3 separate regions of the Homo sapiens genome follow, and regions 1 and 3 are each linked to region 2. The links are contacts of gene promoters, found by promoter capture Hi-C in blood cells and fetal thymus (Javierre and others, 2016). All regions are on one chromosome and are shown on one strand. The core of a region is centred on a gene start or on the middle of the fragment in contact, and the rest is flanking DNA. Distances in the headings are between cores, read along the strand shown. Region 1 overlaps NEK1 (NIMA related kinase 1). Region 2 holds the start of DDX60 (DExD/H-box helicase 60). Region 3 overlaps NEK1 (NIMA related kinase 1).

Evidence for each region. The method cuts DNA at HindIII sites, captures the fragments that hold promoters and counts their contacts. A CHiCAGO score of 5 or more calls a contact.
Region 1: a fragment that was not itself captured here is called in contact with the fragment with the promoter of DDX60 in region 2 in 2 of 17 cell types (naive CD8 T cells and naive B cells); the score reaches 5.2 in naive CD8 T cells.
Region 3: a fragment that was not itself captured here is called in contact with the fragment with the promoter of DDX60 in region 2 in 7 of 17 cell types (total B cells, activated CD4 T cells, naive CD8 T cells and 4 more); the score reaches 11.7 in total B cells.

What each region holds. Positions count from the first base shown.
Region 1 is chr4:169,481,223-169,485,753 of GRCh38, reverse strand. The region is part of intron 23 of NEK1 (NIMA related kinase 1); the gene reads left to right. Among named protein-coding and RNA genes, the nearest start is that of NEK1, 130 kb to the left of the region's middle. The HindIII fragment of the contact is 2,417 bases long and covers 286-2,702 here.
Region 2 is chr4:168,316,703-168,321,212 of GRCh38, reverse strand. DDX60 (DExD/H-box helicase 60) reads left to right here and starts at 2,461. Exons shown (of 38, transcript NM_017631.6): 1 at 2,461-2,591. RefSeq lists an enhancer at 2,198-2,527. The HindIII fragment of the contact is 2,588 bases long and covers 385-2,972 here.
Region 3 is chr4:169,571,286-169,575,685 of GRCh38, reverse strand. All of the region lies in intron 12 of NEK1 (NIMA related kinase 1), which reads left to right. Among named protein-coding and RNA genes, the nearest start is that of NEK1, 39 kb to the left of the region's middle. The HindIII fragment of the contact is 4,110 bases long and covers 345-4,400 here.

The DNA.
Region 1 (4,531 bases), core at 245-2,744, 1.2 Mb before region 2:
GTGAGCCATTGCACCCAGTGAAAAAGTATGTTTAGAATGAAATATATATTATAGATTTAGCTGGGTGATCAATTGTATAATAAAATTGGGTCATTCTTTGTTCCAAATTTTTATATTTTTCTCTTATATGAAACTTTATATTGTTTTCCTGGCTTAGTTAATTTTTGTGATATGTCATATTTGCTCAACTTTCCGTATAAAAGGCTTAGTGTAATGGTTTATCTTTCAATAATTAGAAGTACATTATCATCTTTTATCTCAAGATGTAGTTAATATTGAAAAGCTTTAAGGTTCTGATTATAAATAATACACCATGATATTTATACAGAAGGCCCAATTCAACTGTACTAATAAGTTACTTAAGTGTATGACATTAGCTTATAATGATGTTGCCACATTTCAGTAGTCATCCTGAACCACCCATAAATTTTCAGTAACTTAGTTGTCTTCTTAAGTTATTGTAAGAGTTAGTAATCTGTCTTTGTTCATTTATTTAGATTCCATGTCTGAATTTGTCTGTTTAGGTTCTTCTAATCTGTTTGGTTTAGTTGACTCAGAGGAGAGATCAGTATGCATTTGATTATAGAACATAAGCATTTACTGAAGGCTGCTGAAGATCATTATTATAAAAGTGCCAATAAATTTGTCTCTCACAATGCTCAAATTTTAATTTCTGATCATGGTTAAGATAGGAGGTTTTTGTTTTTAGTCTGCATTCTAAAGATGAGAAACTTGCATTCTGAAACTTAATACATTTCATCAGGAACTAAAACCAGACTTGTAGTGTTTAAGCCAAATAACCTTATTTAATGGAAACCAAATAAATAACAATTGCTACTATTTATTAGGTACACAGATGTGTACTTTACGTAAATTATCTCATGCAATCCCTATAGCAGAGAGGCAAAGAGTACAGCATTTCTATTTTAGAGAAAAACTGTGAGGTTCAGAGAGGATAAAAACAATGAAAAATCACAGGACTGGTGAGTGTTTTGGGATTTGAATGTACAACTGTCCTACTTTATCTGTGTTTTATGGCCTTCCCGAACAATGAATGGCTGACCATTGGCTGCTCTGCGAAGGCTGTTCTCACTGGTGCCCCTCTTGGCTTTACAGAGTTAGTTCTTTCTATATTTTTTGTTTCATTCTTCCCCAGATCGTTTAGTACTTATCTCTTTATTTTTTTCTCTGTAACATACTGATTGATTTATGTGTTCTTTTTTCTTTTCTAATTTACAGTCCCCTCAGAGAAAATATTGTGTCTAATTCATTTTGGATATCATTATCTAGAACTGTGCTTGGCCTTAATAGGTATTAATATGTATTTTAATTTATTGATAATTTTTGTCAAATATTGTGGATTTGTCTTCTCACAGAAATCGTGTCAGATTGATGTATCGAAATAGCAGGCCAAACGCGGTGGCTCACGCCTGTAATCCCAGCACTCTGGGAGGCCAAGGCAGGCAGATCACGGGGTCAGGAGTTCGAGACCAGCCTGGCCAACATGTGAAATCCCATTTCTACTAAAAATACAAAAATGTGCTGGGCATGGTGGCACATAACTGTAATCCTAGTATGTGGTAGAGAAGTGATTACTGATTTAAATAAAAATAGCAGAATGTGTTCATTCAAAGTATATTTCTTTTAAGTAATCATCTAGAGAAATAACATATTTGTTCTAAAAATACTGCTACTATTCAGAACAACTTTGGAGCTTGTTTTTATTCTCTCAGTGTATGAAACCTTATTTGAATTTATATACTATAGTAATTAAAACAAACAAAGTTTCAAAATATTTAGATATAATCTTTCAAGGTGATAATACTGTTAGGTGAGCTCTAGATATTTTTAAAAGTTATTTGTAGTAACTTTTTTTTTTTTTTTTTTTGAGACAGAGTCTCACTCTGTCGCCCAGGCTGGAGTGCAGTGGCACAGTCTCGGCTCACTGCAACCTCTGCCTCACGGGTTCAAGTGATTCTCCTGCCTCAGCCTCCCGAGTACTTGGGACTACAGGTGTACACCACCATGCCCGGCCAATTTTTTGTATTTTTAGTAGAGAGAGGGTTTCACCATGATGGCCAGACTGGTCTCAAACTCATGACCTTGTGATCCACCCGCCTTGGCCTCCCAAAGTGCTGGGATTACAGGTGTGAGCCACTGCGCCCGGCCTATTTGTAGTAACATCTTAAATATCAGTATACTTTTTCAATAATACTGAACTATGGGACTAAAGCAATGTTTCCATCCTTTTTTGAACAAAATAAATACAGGCATACTTTGTTTTATTGTGCTTCATAAATACTGCATTTTTTACAAATTGAAGGTTTGTGGCAACCCTGCATCAAGCAAGTCTATCAGTGTCATTTTCCCAACAGCTTTTGCTCATTTTGTGTCTTTGTGTCACATTTTTGTAATTCTTGCCATATTTCAAACTTTTTCATTATTGTCATTATATCTTTGATATTACTGTTGTAATTGTTCTGAGGCACCACAGACTTCACCCATATAAGATGGGAAATTTAATTGATGAATGTGTGTGTTCTAATTGCTCCACTGACTGGTAGTTCCCCTGTCTCACTCCTCAGATCTTATTCCCTAAGACAAAATAATATTGAAATTAGGCCACTTAATGACTTACAGTGGCCTCTTAAGTATTCAAGTAAAAGAGTTGCATGTCTGTCACCTGAAATCAAGATTAAGCTTGGTGATGAAGGCATATTGAAAGCTGAGATAGGCACAGAATTAAGCCTCTTGCGCCAGTTATCCAAGTTGTGAATGCAAAGGAAAAGTTCCTGAAGGAAATTAAAAGTGCTACCCCAGACCAGGTGCAGTGGCTCACGCCTGTAATCCCAGCATGTTGGGAGGCCGAGGCAGGTGGATCATGAGATCAGGAGTTTGAGACCAGCCTGGCTAACATAGTGAACCCCATCTCTACTAAAAATACAAAAAATTAGCTGAGCGTGGTGGTGTGTGCCTGTAATCCCAGCTACTCAGGAGGCTGAGGCAGGAGAATCATGTAAATCCAGGAGGGAGGCGGAGGTTTCACTGAGCCATTGCACCCCATTGCACTCCAGCCTGGGCGACAGTACAAGACTCCATCTCAGAAAAAAAAAAAGTTCTACTCCAGTGAACACACATGATAAGAAAGCGAAACAGCCAGGTGCCTGTAGTCTCAGCAACTCGGGAGACTGAGGCACGAGAATTGCTTGAGGCCAGAAGTTTGAGACTAGCATGGATGACATAGTGAGAACCTGTCTCTAAAAAAAAAAAAAGAAAGAAAGAAAGAAAGAAAAATTAGCTGGATGTGGTGGCACACACCTATAGTCCCAACCACATTGAGAAGCTAAGGCAGAATGATCATTTGAGCCTAGGATTTCAAGGTTGCAGTGAGCTATTATTGTGCCTGGATCTGCACTCCAGCCTGGGTGACAGAGCAAGACCCCATCTCTTAGAAAAAAAAGAAAGAAAGAAAGCAAAACAGCCTTCTTGCTGATATGGAGAAAGCTTTAGTGGTCTAGATAGAAGATCAAACCAGCCGCAACATTCTCTTTGGCCAAAGCCTAATCCAGAGCAAGGCCCTAACTCTCCTCAATTCCGTGAAGACTAGGAGAGATAAGGAAGCTACAGAAGAAAAATTGTTGGCTAGCAGAGATTGGTTCATAAGGTTTAAGGAAAGAAGCCACCTCCATAACATGAAAGTGCAAGGTAAAGCAGTAAGTGCTGATGGAGAAACTGCAGTACATTATCCAGGAGATATAGCTAAGATCATTGATAAAGGTGGTAATACTAAACAACAGATTTTCAGTGTAGATAAAACAGCCTTCTATTGGAAGAAGATGCCATCTAGGACTCTCATAACTAAAGAGAAGTCAATACCTGGCTTCAAAGCTAAAGAGAAGTCAATAGCTGGCTTCAAAGCTTCAAAAGACTGGCTGACTCTCTTGTTGGGAGCTAATGCAGCTGGTGACTTTAAGTTGAAGCCAGTGCTCATTTGCCATTCTGAAACTCCTAGGACCCTTAAGAATTATGCTAAATCTATTCTATTTGTGTTCTATAAATGGAACAATAAAGCCTGGATGACTGCACATCTGTTAACAGCACGGTTTGCTGTAAATATTTTAAGCCCACTGTTGAGACCTACTGGTTAGAAAAAAAAAATTATTTCCAAATATTACTACTCATTGACAAGGCACCTAGTTACCCAAGAGCTCTGATGGAGATGTATTATACAAAGAGATTCATGTTGTTTTCATGCCTGCTAACACGACATCCATTCTGCAGCCAATGTATCAAGAAGTCATTTTGACTTTCAGGTCTTCTTATTTAAGAAATACATTTTTTTAAGGCTGTAGCCATAGATAATGGTTCCTCTAATGGATCTGGGCAAAGTAAATTGAAAGCCTTCTAAAAAGTATTCATCATTCATCATTCTAGATGCCATTCAGAACTTTTTTGATTCATGGAGTTAATGTCATGTTAATGTTAATGTCAACATTAACAGGAGTTTGGAAGAAGTTGACTCCATTCTTCA
Region 2 (4,510 bases), core at 1,212-3,711:
ACTATCAAGCTTCAGAACAAAGTCCAGGGTGTGGTCATGGGAGTAGGCTGTTGAAGTGAAAAAGTAAAAAAAAAATAAAAAGTTTCTGTGTGTTTACATACTTTGGGGTGGAAAATTGAAGAGGATGAGTCAAAGTTGTCTTGAACTCTCACCTGATAAATCCGGTCACTGAAAGTCGAAACAACTGTAGAACATCATATATTCTAAAAAACTTTATAATTTAAGCAAAAAAAAATCATTTGTCCACTAGCTGAAACACTTTCAGTTGTAGAATTTGAAGCATTTGATGAAATTATGTAATAGAGAATGTTGTAGATAGGCCATTGGGTTAGACCACATTTTGAATCTTAGTATAATTTATTAGCTGTTTTATCCCTCGAAGCTTTATTTTTCTTATCTACAGAATGACAGAAATCATAGTACACACCTCATGAACTTGCTGTGATCATTGATATGGTATTAGCATATTGCTTAGCACATAGTAGCTGTCTGAATTAATTCTACCTCTTGTTATAACACAATCCATTATTTCTGCTGTTTGCAAATATGTTATTCATTTCCTACAATACAGTTTGCAATATTGTATTAGTTCTCTATGGCTGCTGTAACAAATTACCACAAATTTAGTGGCTTAATACCACACAAGTTTGTTCTCTTACAGTTCTGAGCTCAGAGGTTCAAAATCAGTCTCTCTGGGCTGAAGTCAAGGTGTTATCAGGGCTGATTTCTGGAGGCTCTAGAAAAAAAAAATGTTTCCTTGCCTTTGGTAGTTTCTAGAGACCACCAGACTCCTTGGCCCGTGGTCCCTTCCACTGTCTTCAACGCCATCTGTGTAGTGTCCCCACATTCTGTCACTGACTGTTTCTATCATCACATTGCCCCTCGAACTCCTGTCTCCCTCTTATAAAGGCCCTTCTGATGACCTTGGGCCCACCTGGATAATCCCGGGTAAGGGGTAATCTCCTCTTCTAAAGATTCTTATTTAATCTATTTTGCAAAGTTACTTTTGCTATGAAAGTTACTGTATTCATAGGTTCCAGGAATTAGGATTTTGGCCTCTTTTGGAGGGAGGAGTGCAGGGTATTATTCAGCCTACCCCAGGCAGGTACATCAGAGATCACAGTGAAGGAGACAGGAATATTGGCTGATTTAAGACCAATCATGTGTTAAATTCTAGAGTCTTTTATTTTCTTTCTTAATCTCATCACTAACAAACACGTGAATTTCTAAACAAATGAATAAACAAGTAATTGTCTGATGGATGTGAGAAATGTCCTCCTTCCCCATATCCCCCTCTTTTAACAACTTGACTCTCTAATTTTTCACAAGACAAAGTATCATTCACTACTCTCTCTGTTCTGTGTTCCCTGTGGAGCAGTGCCTGGACCTTGGCTCTTTCCTTTCCTTGTAGACAAAGCAGCCTGTGGCTTCTTATCATGCTGATTACCCAAATTCACTGCTGTCTTTCCTCCACACCCTCTTCTATTTCCAATATATGAATGCATATTTATAGCATTAATGAAATCAAGCATACGAGGGCACTGAAAGGAAAGGAGATGAGTATCGAAACCCACACTGCAAGTATCAACAGGCAAAAATTAAGAGAACATTTCATCAATTTGAGGCACAAATAAATGTGACCATTCTGCATTTTCAATTTATTTTTTAATGTTGATTCTTGGCCCATGAAAGTACCAATTACAGTTTATACAGAACAGTAATCATCAGCTTCTCATAACAGAAACTCAAAGTTCATGTATTGTTACATACTTTCTTTTTTCTTTTTGCATACAAGTAGAAGCAGCAAGATCTCCAATTTCATTGTGGGGTTTCAGATTCCACAGTGTCTTTTACATTTTATCAATTTCTAAATTCTAACTCTTCTTGATTTTATCTTGTTTAGATGTTACAAATTTTTCTGCCTCAATTTACTCTATATTTATGCCCAAATTCCAAAGCCCATTTTTATTGCCTTTGTCTCTCTCTTTTAAGGTTTTTTTTAGTTTCATTTTATTTTTAATTGACGCATAATAATTGTATATATTTTTGGGGTACAATGTGACGTTTCAATACATGTATACATTGTGTGATGATCAAATCAGGATAATTAGCCCATCTATTACCTCAAAACTTTACTATTTCTTTGTGATGAGAATATTCAAAATTCTCTCTTCTAGCTATTTTGAAATATGCATTATTGTTAACTATACACACCCTACTGCAGAATAGAATACCAGAACTGGTTCTTCCTAGCTATTGTAACTTCATACCTTTTAACTAACGTCTCGCCATGCTCCCCTTCTTAAGATTCTGATTGAAGGGAAGGATGCTAAACTTTCCACGAAAGTGCCTCGCCTAATTCGTGCTGAAGGGAAACTGAAACCTAAGTGCTTCTGAGAGGAGAAAGGAAACCGAAACTCCCGCCGGATGCATAAAAGACTGGCTGCGGTGGCTCAGAGCGCCGAGTCCTAGGCCAGGTCTGGGGTAACCTGGAACTTCCACCTGGGCTCTGCGCTAGGTCTCTGTTTCACTCCCTCCCCGCGGGGCGCGCAGCTCGCGGGTCTTTGGACACCACCGGTCCTGAGTCCGCGGTGAGGAGCCGGGGATGTCCCTTGGGAAGAGCCTGGGGCGGAGCTGTCTAGCGGGAGTTCTAGGTCTTCTTCAACGGACCGGACAGGGAGGTGGCCCAGGAGTGCTGGGCTCGGGGCGCGGGAATCTGGGGAACCTCCTGGGATCGCAAGGCCGTGGCGCACGGGCCCCCTGCTGGCCCGGAAGGCCGGGCGTGGGGAGGGGCGGAGGAAAGGGACAACCGCGAAAGGCCTGAAGTCTGAGACAGAGAGGAGTGCTTAGTTAGGCATTTAAGGAGTCCCCGTCAAAGGTGGGAGCTGGGTAATGGAGGTTGAGGAGAAATTAAGGGACATCATATCTAAGCACAGCCAGTAAAACCTGTACATTGACAGCAGCAAGAAGCTTCCACCTTCAATCCCTGCTCCAGACTTGTAGAATCAGAATCTGCGTTTATTAATAAGATTCCCCCAGGTAATTTCTGTGCACCCTTAAATTTCAGTGGCTTAAGACAATAGAAATTTATTTCCTACTCCAGTAACTTAATTTATTCCTGGTCAAGGGGCAGGTATAGTGGCTTAAAACATTACAAGTTTATTATTTTACAATTGCTGTGGATCAGAAGCCCAGGCATGGGTAAAGTGAGTTCTCTGTTCAGCATCTCATCGAGCTGAAATCAAGGTGTCAGAGCTGTGGCCTCATGGGACACCATGGATGCTCATTCAGGTTGTTGGAAGAATTCAGTTTCTTGCAGCTAAAGGACTGAGGTTACCTGCTTTCTTGCTGGCTGTTGGCTGGGGGTTCCCATGTCTTTAGATTTCACCCTGAGATCTTAGCTACAGTGGCCTTCTCACAACAAGGTGGCTTATACCGTTAAAGAAGGTATAGGGTACCTTTAAAGAAGGTATAAGCCTCTTTGGGGGAATCTCCCGAGTCTACTATGATGAAGTCTTACATAATATAACCGAATCATTAAAGAGACTATGCCATTAAATTCACAGGTCCTGTCCACACTCAAGGGGAGAGGGTTATACCGGGTACTGGAAGCCATTTTAACCCACCAGCTCTTCTCCAGGCAGGGTTTCAGGAGCTTGATGCCTTTCATCAAGTAGCTCCACCATTCTGTTCCAATACAGAATCCATGATTTCCTTTCCCTTCCCTTGCCCCCATTTTTTTCCTCTTTACCTCCCCTTTGCGCCTTTCCTCTTCCCTCCTTTTTTCTCTTTTCCATTTCTCTTCCTCCCTTCTTCTTTTCTTCTTCCTTTTTAAGATTGTTTGAATCAGAATATGGTTCTGACACTACTGTGATTGGAGGATAAGCCTTATAAGGTTCTTGCAATTTCTTTCATCCCCTTTTAATTTATTCGTTTGTAAGATTTGTGGTCTTATGATTGTTTGTTTTTGTATGTGTGTGTCCTGTTGGGTGTGTGTTTATGTGTGTGTGTGTGTATGTGTCCTAATCCCTGTGGTGTCATTTAACATATTTTGCTGGCCTCTAAATTTCTTGTAAATTAATCATTACTACTAGCGTTTTGATCAGATTCAGGTTTTCTTTTTTTTCTTCTTCTTCTTTTTTTTTTTTTTTTTTTGAGACGGAGTCTTGCTCTTTTGCCCAGGCTGGAATGCAGTGGCTTGATCTCAGTTCACTGCAACCTCTGCCTCCCAGGTTCAAGCGATTCTTCTACCTCAGCCTCCCAAGTAGCTGGGATTACAGGTGACTGTCACCATGCCCAGCTAATGTTTGCATTTTTAGTAGAGATGGGGTTTCACCATGTTGGCCAGTCTGGTCTCGAACTCCCGACCTCAGGTGATCTGCCCGCCTTGGCCTCCCAAGTTTTGGGTTTCTTTTTTTTTTGGCTGGGAGAACTACAATACTTCACTGATGGTGTGGACACTTGCCTCTATTTTTGTTGTGCTATCGTTTAAAAATACCAAGATCTGTTA
Region 3 (4,400 bases), core at 1,150-3,649, 1.3 Mb before region 2:
AACTGCCTGGAGTGTCAGTAGAATGTACTGGGAAGCCACTTGAGGAGCCGTTGAACTCACTGGGAAGCCTGCTGGGGTGCCAGTGGAACTTATCTGGTGCTGCTCTAGCTGGGATGCTGGCTGAGGCACCAGCAGAATTCTGTGGGAAGCTCTTCTTGCAGGTGCTGCTGAAACTCACAGGGAAGCTGGTAGGGGCACTGGCCAAACACTCCTGGAAGGTGCCTGTAGGGGTGAGTGCTGCTGTTTGTCCCACTTGCTGCAGTAACAGGAAGAAAGGAAACACACTAATCAGGAAGAGAAGCTTCTGCCTTTGCAGTGACCCTCTCAGTTTTACTGACAAAGCTTAATATTGTGTTAGCAATCAAAGAAGAAATGTTTACAACGTCCAGCTCTAGCATCACAAGCTGGACAATGAAGAGTAGATTTGGAGCTGAGGGGCAATATGGTAACTGGCCTGCTGGTTTTATCTATCTTTAAAAAGATGTATTCAAACCTAAGTGGGCCAATTCCATCTTATCGTTTTATCTCTCTTTACTTCAGTCACCACAGGAAGCCTAGGACTCCAGCTTTCCCTCACTGCCTAGACTCTCCTATTGCTGTAAGACTCTGGTCATACTCTGATCTGCCCCCACCCCTGCATAGTTTTCTATAGGTTGGTGCAAAAGTAGTTGGGGTTTTTGTCATTGAAAGCAAAACCGCCATTACTTTTGCACCAACCTGTAATCTCTTCCAGAAAACTCTCTTATAGTACATTCTTGGCAAAATCCACTGTATTTTAAACTTCTAAAGATGTCTTCACCTTTTTTGCTTGAAAACCTGGTTTGTCCCTGAACACACTGTTCTGCAGCTGTCTTACATGCTGGCTGTTTTCTCTAATCCCTTAATATTATTGGGTCTAGAGGTAGGATGAAGGAAATGTTTCCCTTGCTTCTCATTGCCAGACTCTCCCTGCTGCCTGATCCTGCCATTCTCCTCATCTCTCTACCTTGATGCTTTTGCTACCAGACTGTATCACCTACTGCTCTTCTGTGTTAGGATCATCTGTAGACACTTGTCTTTTTTTTTTTTTTTTTTCTTTTGAGGTGGAGTCTCCCTCTGTCGCCCAGGCTGGAGTGCAGTGGCACAATCTCAGCTCATTGCAAGCTCCGCCTCGCGGGTTCACGCCATTCTCCCGCCTCAGCCTCCTGAGTAGCTGGGACTGTGGGACTACAGGCGCCCGCCACCACACCCAGCTAATTTTGTTTTTGTATTTTTATTAGAGACGGGGTTTCACCATGTTAGCCAGGATGGTCTCGATCTCCTGACCCCATGATCCGCCCGCCTTGGCCTCCCAAAGCGCTGGGATTACGGGCATGAGCCACCACGCCCCGCCAACCCTTGTCTTTTGAAGAGTTTAACACCTGACTCACTGTCACTCCTTCCAATATTGTCATAATTCTTTACAGTTTTAGTATAAAAAAAGATGATACTTCCTATAGAACATGGCCTTTTGTTTTCATTTTCTTTCTTTCTCTTTTCTTTTCTTTTTGAGAAAGAGTCTTGCTCTGTTGCCCAGGCTAGAGGACAGTAGTGCGGTCATGGCTCACTGCTGCCTTAACTTCCTGAGCTCAAGCAATCCACCTCCTCAACTTCCTGAGTAGCTGAACCACAGGCAAGTGCCACTACACCCAGCTAATTTTTTATTTTTTGTAGTGGTGGGGTTGCACTATGTTACCCAGGCTTGTCTCAAACTCCTGGGCTCAAGCAATGCTCTTGCCTTGGCTGCCCAAAAAGTGCTGGGATTACAGGCATGAGCCACCGTGCCTGGCTTATTTTCTTGATCATTCTCTTTCAAATATCTTGTCTCCCACTTTAACTTGAAACTCTCACCTATGGCCATGCCATTAAAATTTTTATTATCAATAATAACAACTCTTTCTTAGCCTCATTTATAATCATCCCGTTCCCTGATCACCACTTCCTGTGTTTCTAGCTTACTTCTTTAGGAGTCTGCCTCCAAAACATCTGTCCCATTTGGATCCATGAATCCTAATAACTTCCTTTATTCCCCCTCTTTGTTTCTATTTTCCTTACCTGGCTTAAATTCCATATTCATTTATAATAATTTCCAAATGGTCAGCTCTCTTGCCCTCTCTTCCATTATTACCAATAACCAAAAAACTTAACTTTGTGAAATCCAACTCTCCACTTCATTTGTGCCTGAAGCTGGTCAGTGGAATATGGCTGGAGAAAGCATATGACTATTGTAACTAGTCTAACTTTCAATATGTAACCAACAATATCAAATTAGCACCTTCTGGTCACCCTATTATATTTCCTCAGTGTATTTACTCTTCTACTTCCTAGGTGATTATTTTTTACCTTCTCTTTGCTTTTCACAAGGACCAATATTTTCTTCCTACTTCACTGAGAAAATAGAAGCAATTGGAAGAAAACTTTCCCACAATTACTTCTGCTAGTCAGTCTTACCTGTTGGCAAATATTTTACCTTTCTTCGTTTTACTTTGGATGACCTGTTTCTGTTCCCAGTTAGGATCAACTCAATCATTTGCATACTGTGATTCTTTTTTGCCTGCTAAAGGACTTTGCGCTCTCTCCTGCATCATTATAGTTTTTTCTCTCTACTGAATCATTCATGTTAGCAAACAAATATCCTATATCTTAAGTCTTTTTAAAAAGGAACTTTCCCTTATGTCCTTCCAACTACCTCTCTATATTTCTGGTCCCTTTAACAACAAAACTTTCCCAAAAGATTGTCTATACTGTCTCCAGTTCATTTCATTTTGAACCCACTTCACTCATGGCTTTCTTTGTCACAGCTGTTATGAAACAGCTGTTGTGAAATGGCTCCTGATGTCTATATTATTAAATCCATGGGTCATTTTTCTTCTTCCTTGACCTCAGTTTTTGACTCACTTGATTGCCCCCTCCTTCTTGAAATATTTTCTTCATTTGAGTCCCTGGTATTACATTCTTCTGGTTTTCTTCCTACCTCATTGACTGCTGCTTCTCAGCCTCCTTTGCAAGTTCCTCCTCACCTCCAGGGCTTTTAAATGCTGAGGTGCTCAAGGTCTCAGGCCTCAGATATCTTCTTTTTTGTATCCATACGAACTTTCTAATGGATAACATCTATAAGCTGACTCTCAAATTTGTATCTCCACCTTGGACTCCTTTCCTGAACTGGAGACTGATACCTGTCTTAACATCTCCAGCTGTGTTTCTAATAGACATCTCAAAATTACCATATATAAAAATGAACTCTTGATTTCATTCTCTCTCCAAATTGATCTTACTTATTTCAGTAAATGGGAACTCTGCCCTTCCATTTGTTCTCATCTTCCATATTGGAGTCATTATTGACTACTCTTTCTACGTCATATCCTGTCAATTGTGACTTCAAAATATATTCACGGTCTGACTACTTCTCATTATTTTTACCACCATATTAGTCCTAGCCACCCTCACTTTCCACCAGGGTTATAATAATCTCATGATTAGTCTAACTGCTTTCAGACTTACCCTCTTAGTCTGTTCTCATGTGAGCAGCCCAAATGTTCCTTTTATGATGGAAGTCAGATCGTTACACTCTCCTGCTTGAAACTTTTCAGTGTCTTTTCATCCCACTCAGTAAAAGCCAGGGTCGGCCGGGCCCGGTGGCTCCTGCCTGTAATCCCAGCACTTTGGGAGGTGGGCCTTGTGACCTTGATCTCACGATGTCAAGAGATTGAGACCATCATGGCCAACATGGTGAAACACCTTCTCTACTAAAAATACAAAAAAAAAAAAAAAATTAGCTGGGCATGGTGGTGTGTGCCTATAATCCCAGCTACTCAGGAGGCTGAGGTAGGAGAATTGCTTGAACCTGAGAGGCAGAGGTTACAGTGAGCTGAGATCATGCCACTGCCCTCCAGCCTGGAGACAGAGTGAGACTTGGTTTCAAGAAAAAAAAGCAAGCCAGAGTCTTTACAACTGTCTACAAAGCCCCCGACAGCCTCATTACCTTTCCAAGTCTCATTTGCTACTCTTCCCTTGCTAGTCCCGGTACAGCCTTGCCAAACCTGTTGTCCTTAAACATGCCAAGTACTTACCTGCAAAAACAAGTTTGTACTTGCTGCTGTCTTTTCTTTGAGGTCTGTGCTCAAAACTTGCTTTATGAATAGAGCCTTTCTTGATCACACTATATCAAGTAATAACCATCCCTCTACGCCATTCCCACGTTTCTACTCTACTTTACTCTGCTTTGTTTTTCTCCACAATGTTATCACTTTCTAATCTATTTTCAATTAGTTTATTACCAGTTTCCTCCACTACAGTGCAGAAATTCATGAGGGTAGGGATTTTTGTTGTTGTTCACTAGTTCCTGGCAAATAGTTCCTGGCCTCAAGTAATCCACCTACCTT